Regions from separate parts of the Homo sapiens genome. Here region 2 is linked to region 1. The links are contacts of gene promoters, found by promoter capture Hi-C in blood cells and fetal thymus (Javierre and others, 2016). All regions are on one chromosome and are shown on one strand. Each heading gives the region's core, a stretch centred on a gene start or on the middle of the fragment in contact. The rest is flanking DNA. Distances are from core to core; before and after follow the strand shown. Region 1 holds the start of ST7L (suppression of tumorigenicity 7 like). Region 2 holds the start of NRAS (NRAS proto-oncogene, GTPase).

What was found. Contacts are between HindIII fragments. The CHiCAGO score rates a contact against its expected background, and 5 or more counts as called.
Region 2: a fragment that was not itself captured here is called in contact with the fragment with the promoter of ST7L in region 1 in 1 of 17 cell types (fetal thymus); the score reaches 5.2 in fetal thymus.

What each region holds. Positions count from the first base shown.
Region 1 is chr1:112,617,468-112,621,377 of GRCh38, reverse strand. It overlaps ST7L (suppression of tumorigenicity 7 like), which reads left to right and starts at 2,237. Exons shown (of 15, transcript NM_017744.5): 1 at 2,237-2,469. The coding sequence starts at 2,265. It overlaps CAPZA1 (capping actin protein of muscle Z-line subunit alpha 1), which reads right to left and starts at 1,546. Exons shown (of 10, transcript NM_006135.3): 1 at 1,495-1,546. The coding sequence starts at 1,533. RefSeq lists enhancers at 1,264-1,713, 866-2,065, 2,174-2,273. The HindIII fragment of the contact is 828 bases long and covers 1,914-2,741 here.
Region 2 is chr1:114,713,193-114,716,923 of GRCh38, reverse strand. It overlaps NRAS (NRAS proto-oncogene, GTPase), which reads left to right and starts at 153. Exons shown (of 7, transcript NM_002524.5): 1 at 153-266; 2 at 747-874; 3 at 2,946-3,124. The coding sequence starts at 764. It overlaps CSDE1 (cold shock domain containing E1), which reads left to right. Exons shown (of 20, transcript NM_001007553.3): 20 at 1-8. RefSeq lists enhancers at 148-347, 358-457. The HindIII fragment of the contact is 2,336 bases long and covers 1,014-3,349 here.

The DNA.
Region 1 (3,910 bases), core at 988-3,487:
CGGGAAGCTGAGGCAGGAGAATAATTTGAACCAGGGAGGCGGAAGTTGCAGTGAGCCGAGCGAGACTCCGTCTCAAAAAAAAAAAAAAATTGTTTAGTTGTATTGTAACAGGATTTTTGCTTAATTTTATTTGAATAGTAACTATTTGCCTTAGAACAATTTATTATAGATCGATTTCCAGCATAGGCTTATACATAAATGTTTTTGTCCTAAATCTTAAACATGTATGAAGATCAGTTTCCAAATAAGAGAAAATCTAACGCTGTTGTCAATGGCTTGTTAAACATTTCAAAATGGCATGCCATATCTACATATATCAAGTTATTCCGTACAGAGGACTTATGGATCATAACAGTCCCCTTCCCATCCCAACTTCTTATTGAAAAAAACACCCAGGTAGATTTACAGAGCACTCAAGGGGACACATTTTCTAATAGCCACAGTGGGAGACAAATGTCATAATTCTTGTCCAATAAGTTGCCTTGTGAGGTCATTCTAAGTTCTACGTGCCCTAAAACCATGTACTTACTGAAAAGCCTGACAAACTGTTATGAAACTGTGCAACTGTCAGAAGAAAAGTTATTCCACCTTAGAATGTGCTCTTGTATTTAAGACCCTTTTCAAGAAATGAGCATACAAAATGCACACTGACAAATTCAACTGATCAAAGACTCCACAGTGGAGCATCAAAGAAGGCAGGATGCTTTGTTCAGTCTTGAACGTGTTAACATAAGGTTTATTATGTGTTACAGAAAACCTTTCTGGAGGTTAAGAAAATCCATCAGCTATTCTAGATTTGTTAACAAGAAACAAAATTTTCAAAAATTATCGTTAAAAGGGATGTGTCTATAGGGAAAGACTGGTGTTCAAATTCTGAAGCAAATGCCCTGAGGCTCACAGATTTATTATAGCGAATCAGACAGGCGACAGTACAGGAGAAAAGTAGTGCATGTGTAGGGAGATGGACAACATTTGGGACCTCTCCTTGTCGAAGAGTCGTGACAGCAAAATCACTTCCTGAGGAAGGAGGAGCAAAAGGGAAGTTAAGAGGCCATCCTGACCAGGAAGTGACTCGCCCTAAACTAACCCCAATTATATCTACAAATGGGGGGATGGGGTGAGCCCCAACTGCTAAAGGCGGTAAAATAACTGCTTTTTGATATGTCGCAACATAACCACCACCCTCTCGCAAAATTACAGAAAAAAGTCCACAGTCACGATCCAATAAAGGAAACGTCTGTTCCCTTGCAGGGAGGCCCCTGGGCTGTGCCTCAGGCCTGAGAGAAAAGGAGAGTCGAGGAACGAGGAACTGGGGCCACCGTGAGGCAGAGGAAAGCCCCCTAAGAGGGAAGCGTCCCGACTGCGGAGAGCGTATGTCAGCATGGACCAAGAAGCTTCTTTTTCCTGGGGACACTGCTAGGCTCCCAACGCAGCCGGGCCGGGCCCCAGTTCCCTGTCGGGGGAGGAGGTAAGAGAGAGAGGCGGACCCCTTACCTTCTCCTCATCCGACACACGATCATCGAAGTCGGCCATCTTGGGCTGTTCTGGCCCAGCCCGGCTACGGGCGCGAGGCAGGCCGGGAAGAAAGCCGAGTGATGGAATCACCGCGGCGGCCGTCGGAAGGACCCGCCCGGAAACGCCGACCAAGAGGGCCCCATGTCAGTTATGCGCGGGAGTGACGTCTCCTAACGCCAGCGCCCGCGCCCGCGCCCCAGGAAGTAGGGTTTGCCTTAGGTGATTTGAAGTCTAATATCTTTCCCAATGAGTTACACTCATTTCCCATCCATCTAATGGGCGCTGGCAGCGTGTTTCGATTATTCTTGGCTTCTGGCCTCCATCCGACCAAATAGCTGTTGCTACTCCTACAAGTTTTTCTGGTGCCCGTTATCTCCACGACAGCCGAATCCAAAGCTTTAAGAGCTGCTCGGCAGCTGGAACGATCGGTGGCTTTTCCAACCCCGGGGGGGGGGCGGTGTGAAAGGTGACCCTCATTTCGTTTGGAAGCGGTAACACTTCGGGGTCACATCTCAGTCCAGTTCCTCCAGAATAGGCGCTGCTGTCCGCCCCTTCCCTGCCCCACGAAAGAACAGGTAGCCCCAATCTTGAGACACGCTCCTCCACCTTCGAAATCTTCTCGGTCCCGGTTCCCCAGGACTCAGCCTTCACAGAGGCCAACTTCAGGTCCGCCACTATCCCAGGATTCCCGACTCCCGGTTTCCTGTCCTTCTCCCCTCCCAGCTCCTGGCGCCTGCGATAGCGGCAAGATGGCGGACCGTGGCGGCGTGGGTGAAGCCGCAGCTGTTGGAGCGTCTCCTGCATCTGTCCCTGGCCTAAACCCGACGCTAGGCTGGAGGGAGCGACTGCGGGCCGGGCTGGCGGGGACTGGGGCCTCGTTGTGGTTCGTGGCGGGGCTGGGGCTGCTTTACGCCCTGAGGATCCCTTTGAGGCTGTGTGAGAATTTGGCAGCGGGTGAGAGGACCAGACCTCCTGGGGCAGGGCGGGGGGCCAGGAGAGATGTCGGGGGCAAGAGCCAAAGGGCAAGAGATTCTCGGTAGTCCTAGAGGGCCTCTGAGGAGTCGATGATGAGCGATCAAGTGAGTTCTTTTTCTTTTGGGCTGCAACCTTGCAGTTGATTGACAAGCCTGCTGCCGTTACCGGCTCCTCCGTAGAACTCTTAAGGTCCGCCCTCTCTCTTATGTCCTCGTTTTTCCATGGAAAAGCCACCTGACAAGCTATAAGCTTCAGGTATTAGGACAGAAGAGTGTCTCAGATTAGGATACGTAATTTATATTGGCTCCCCCACCTCTGGTAGGATCCCTTAAAAGTCACTACTTTGAGTCTCCCGCTGCCCAGCTGAAAGAACTCATATCCAGGCAACAAAGATGAGCACATCTGTAATTTAAAGATTTCAGAGAAAGAAAATGGCATGATTTTAATTGAGGATTCTCTTGTTTTAAAATAGTTCTGTTAAGAAATCGTTTTCGTGATAGTTTTGTCTGTTCTTTTAGGCTTATCTTGAGTAATAAAATAGTACAGGAAGTGAGAGCGCCACAAACAACAGTGGGTTTGCTAGTTCTTTCGACGTCTGTAGAACACTTGCTACGTATTCTGTGCTGACAATACGAACACATGTAAGAAGTGATGATCCTGATGGATTCTCATATACTGTACTATTCTTTAGCTGTAGACAGGATGAAGTGTTTAGGGCCCAGGTCCCCTTACCATGTGATTATATTTCACTCAAGATCTGAGCAGCAACCTCAGAACAAGATATAAGTATTTCCATTACATGATTCAGTATGGTGGTTGATTTTTCTGAAGCAAAAGGCAGCAAATGTCCCCTTTCCTGTTCAGAGATGACATGAAAGACTGTGAGTTAATGTTCGGAAATATTTTGGTTTTTTTGGAGGATAGGTATCAAGTTCAAATATAACTAGCACTCTAAAATAAGCTAAACTGAAGAGCTAATTTGGCATCTCTGTAACAGGTGAATGAAGTGCTTAACGGTGGTTTCTATGCACAGTGTTACTGATTGACTTGTCATTTATTTTTCTACGTTAACCATATGCAACATTTAGATGAGAATAGTTGATTACTATAGATTTTTCTTTTTTACGTTTCGTGTGTGTGTGTGTGTGTGTGTGTGTGTGTGTGTGTGTGAGAGAGAGAAAGACAGACAGAGTCTCCCTTTGTCACCCAGGCTGAAGTGTAGTGGCAAGATCACTGCAGCCTTGAACTCTTCTGCTTAAGCGATCCTCTGGCCTCAGCCTCCCAAGTAGCTGGGACTGCAGGCGTGCACCACCACGACTGGCTGAGTTTTAAATTTTGCGTAGAGACTGGGTCTATTTTATTTGCCCAGGCTGGTCTTGAACTTCTGGCTACCAGTGATCCTCCTGCCTTGGCCTCCCAA
Region 2 (3,731 bases), core at 932-3,431, 2.1 Mb before region 1:
AGACACTAGCACCTAGCGCTTTCATTATTGAAACGTCCCGTGTGGGAGGGGCGGGTCTGGGTGCGGCCTGCCGCATGACTCGTGGTTCGGAGGCCCACGTGGCCGGGGCGGGGACTCAGGCGCCTGGGGCGCCGACTGATTACGTAGCGGGCGGGGCCGGAAGTGCCGCTCCTTGGTGGGGGCTGTTCATGGCGGTTCCGGGGTCTCCAACATTTTTCCCGGCTGTGGTCCTAAATCTGTCCAAAGCAGAGGCAGTGGAGCTTGAGGTAAGTTTATCTCATGCATAGTGTTCGGCTTTGGGCTGTGGAATGTTCAGGCGTTTCACTGATGCCAGAAATGGAGCAGAATCTATCAGCTGGAGACAAAGGCCTTGGGCGGGGGTCCTTCCATTTGGTGCCTACGTGGGGAGATCTTTGGAGACAGAAGGGAGAATGGGAAGGAGTTGCGGCCTGGAGGCTTCCTGCTAGAGCTGAGAAGCCTTCGGGGAGTAATAGGAAGGGGGATTTCCATTGCTTAGGCTGAGGGCGGGGCCCAAGGACTGTTGAAAAATAGCTAAGGATGGGGGTTGCTAGAAAACTACTCCAGAAGTGTGAGGCCGATATTAATCCGGTGTTTTTGCGTTCTCTAGTCACTTTAAGAACCAAATGGAAGGTCACACTAGGGTTTTCATTTCCATTGATTATAGAAAGCTTTAAAGTACTGTAGATGTGGCTCGCCAATTAACCCTGATTACTGGTTTCCAACAGGTTCTTGCTGGTGTGAAATGACTGAGTACAAACTGGTGGTGGTTGGAGCAGGTGGTGTTGGGAAAAGCGCACTGACAATCCAGCTAATCCAGAACCACTTTGTAGATGAATATGATCCCACCATAGAGGTGAGGCCCAGTGGTAGCCCGCTGACCTGATCCTGTCTCTCACTTGTCGGATCATCTTTACCCATATTCTGTATTAAAGGAATAAGAGGAGAGAAAGTAAAAAGTTATTTTGGGTATACATTCAGTTATGCAATAAGCTTAACGTGTTTATAGAGAACAGTTCATTTTTATTAGCTGCTGAAGTTTCTAAAACCTGTCCAGTTTTTAACAGTTCTGTAAACTATTGCAAACTCAGTGTTGAGTTCATTCATGAGTTTCTTCATATATAACAGCTCTATTACATGAGAAACACAGGCCATAGTAGCGAGACTGTCTGATTGTATGGGAGATAATAGGATGGAGATAAAGGATTCAGAGATGAGTGTTCTTCAATATTTATTTATTAGCTAGTTGAAGCAGCTGAGACCAGATGATTGGAGTAGCAAGAACTTGAGATTTTTAGTCTTTATGCCTAGGATTTTGGTCCCTGTTTGCAGTTTATTTAGTTGTGTGATATTGAGCAACTGAATCTCTCCCAACCTCATTTTCCTCATGTTTTAAATTACCATAAACTTGTCCTGCCTACCACACAGGGATGTTATGGAAAGTTAAATAATATATTTAAGTTATTTATGAATGGTAAAGCACTATGTAATAGTACTTAGGGATTCTATTGTTATTATGAGAGTTCATGGTACAGATTGTCTTCAGTAAGTGGCACCTAAGGCTCTTTAAATAAAGGGTTTTGCCGGACACGGTGGCTCACGCCTGTAATCCCAGCACTTTGGGAGGCTGAGGCAGGCGGATCACAAGGTCAGGAGTTCAAGACCAGCCTGATCAACATGGTGAAACCCCGTCTCTACTAAAAATACAAAAATTAGCTGGGTGTGGTGGCAGGCACCTGTAATCCCAGCTACTCAGGAGGCTGAGGCAGGAGAATCGCTTGAACCAGAGGCAGAGGGTGCAGTGAGCCGAGATCACACCACAGACCTCCAGCCTGGGCAACAGAGCGAGACTTCGTCTCAAAAAATAAATAAATAGATAAATAAATAAAGGGTTTTGTAATTTTGTTCAGTTTAGAAATGCCTAACTTTAGAGATTATTTTAATCAACACCTGGCCTCCCTACCATCTGGCTACTCGTGTTTAATTGATGAAAACTAACTCTAATGTAGCCACTATAAAAAATTGGTTGCTAACCCTTGGCAAAATCTTTATTTTGAGCTTAACAGCTTTAATATTTTACATGAAATGTTTAATATTTTAATTAAATATTTTTAAATGTTTGATTTATTGAGCAATTTACATAAGTAAAATACATAAATTTTATGTCTACAGCCCAGTGCTTTTTGCGTTTCTATATAGTCATGTAGCTACCACCCAGATAACAGTATAGAGCACTTCCAGTACTCCAGAGAGTTCTCCAAGTGTGATGACATTAAAATACAAGTAAAAGTCCTGTTGCCATAAAACCAAAATGAAAGTATTTTTTATATGATCTATGCATGTTTGTCTTCCTGAGAAATTAAACATAACTATACCTTGTTTGGAACCTTTAAGAATTTGATTCAGGAATATTTCCCAAAGGTACATCTGTCATGATAAAAAAAAAACCTTCTCTGAAACAAAGGTATTTGTATATTTAGTCATAAACACAAATGATGTATATAGGGCCAGGTTATAATTGGTGGAGGTATGTTTAGATTTCTTTAAGTAAAATAAACAGCACAAATAAAACAGTCCAGTTCATAGCTTAGTGAAATACACTGGGTACTTAATCTGTAGCCTCCTGGCTGCAGTAGAGTTGTCATTTGAGTTACTGTGTTTTCTTAATCTTTTCCAGGAACACAGTGACCATATTTCTTTTCTGCAGGCATATAGAATTTGGTGGGTTTTCTTTTATGTAGGGTGATATTGGATACTTTTTGTTTGTGATTATATATTAGCAATTTGAGGGACAAACCAGATAGGCAGAAATGGGCTTGAATAGTTAGATGCTTATTTAACCTTGGCAATAGCATTGCATTCCCTGTGGTTTTTAATAAAAATTGAACTTCCCTCCCTCCCTGCCCCCTTACCCTCCACACCCCCAGGATTCTTACAGAAAACAAGTGGTTATAGATGGTGAAACCTGTTTGTTGGACATACTGGATACAGCTGGACAAGAAGAGTACAGTGCCATGAGAGACCAATACATGAGGACAGGCGAAGGCTTCCTCTGTGTATTTGCCATCAATAATAGCAAGTCATTTGCGGATATTAACCTCTACAGGTACTAGGAGCATTATTTTCTCTGAAAGGATGATCTTTGTGTTCTGAATCTTTATGGGGAAATGAGGTTACCACACTAGGGAAGATAGAGCTTTTTAATTATGGGAAGAGTTGGTTTTAGGTTGTTTGACATTGAGAATCTAGGGTAATTACTGAAAGTTAATACTGGAATTTATTTTACATAATATACTGTTACTATAAAGTTTGATAATACATAAGTGAAGCTTGCTACTGGGAATGACTTGGAACCAGAGTTGTTGTAATTAGAGATCACGAAGGAATTTCAGAGAGGAAAACATCTCCAAGAAACATCTTTCAGTATGTAATGGAAAAGATAGGCCAGGCACAGTGGCTCACACCTGGAATGTCAGTGCTTTGGGAGGCCAAGGCGGGAGGATCACTTTCAGCCCAGGAGTTGGAGACCAGCCTGGGCAACAGAGCAAGACCCTGTCTCTACAAAAATAAAAATAAAAAAATTAGTCACACATGGTGGCAGCTACTCGGGAGGCAGAGGTGGGAGGATCACGTGAGCTCAGGAGGTCGAGGCATGCTCACTCCACTGCACTGCTGCACTCCAGCCTAATCAACAGAGCAAGATTCTGTCTCCA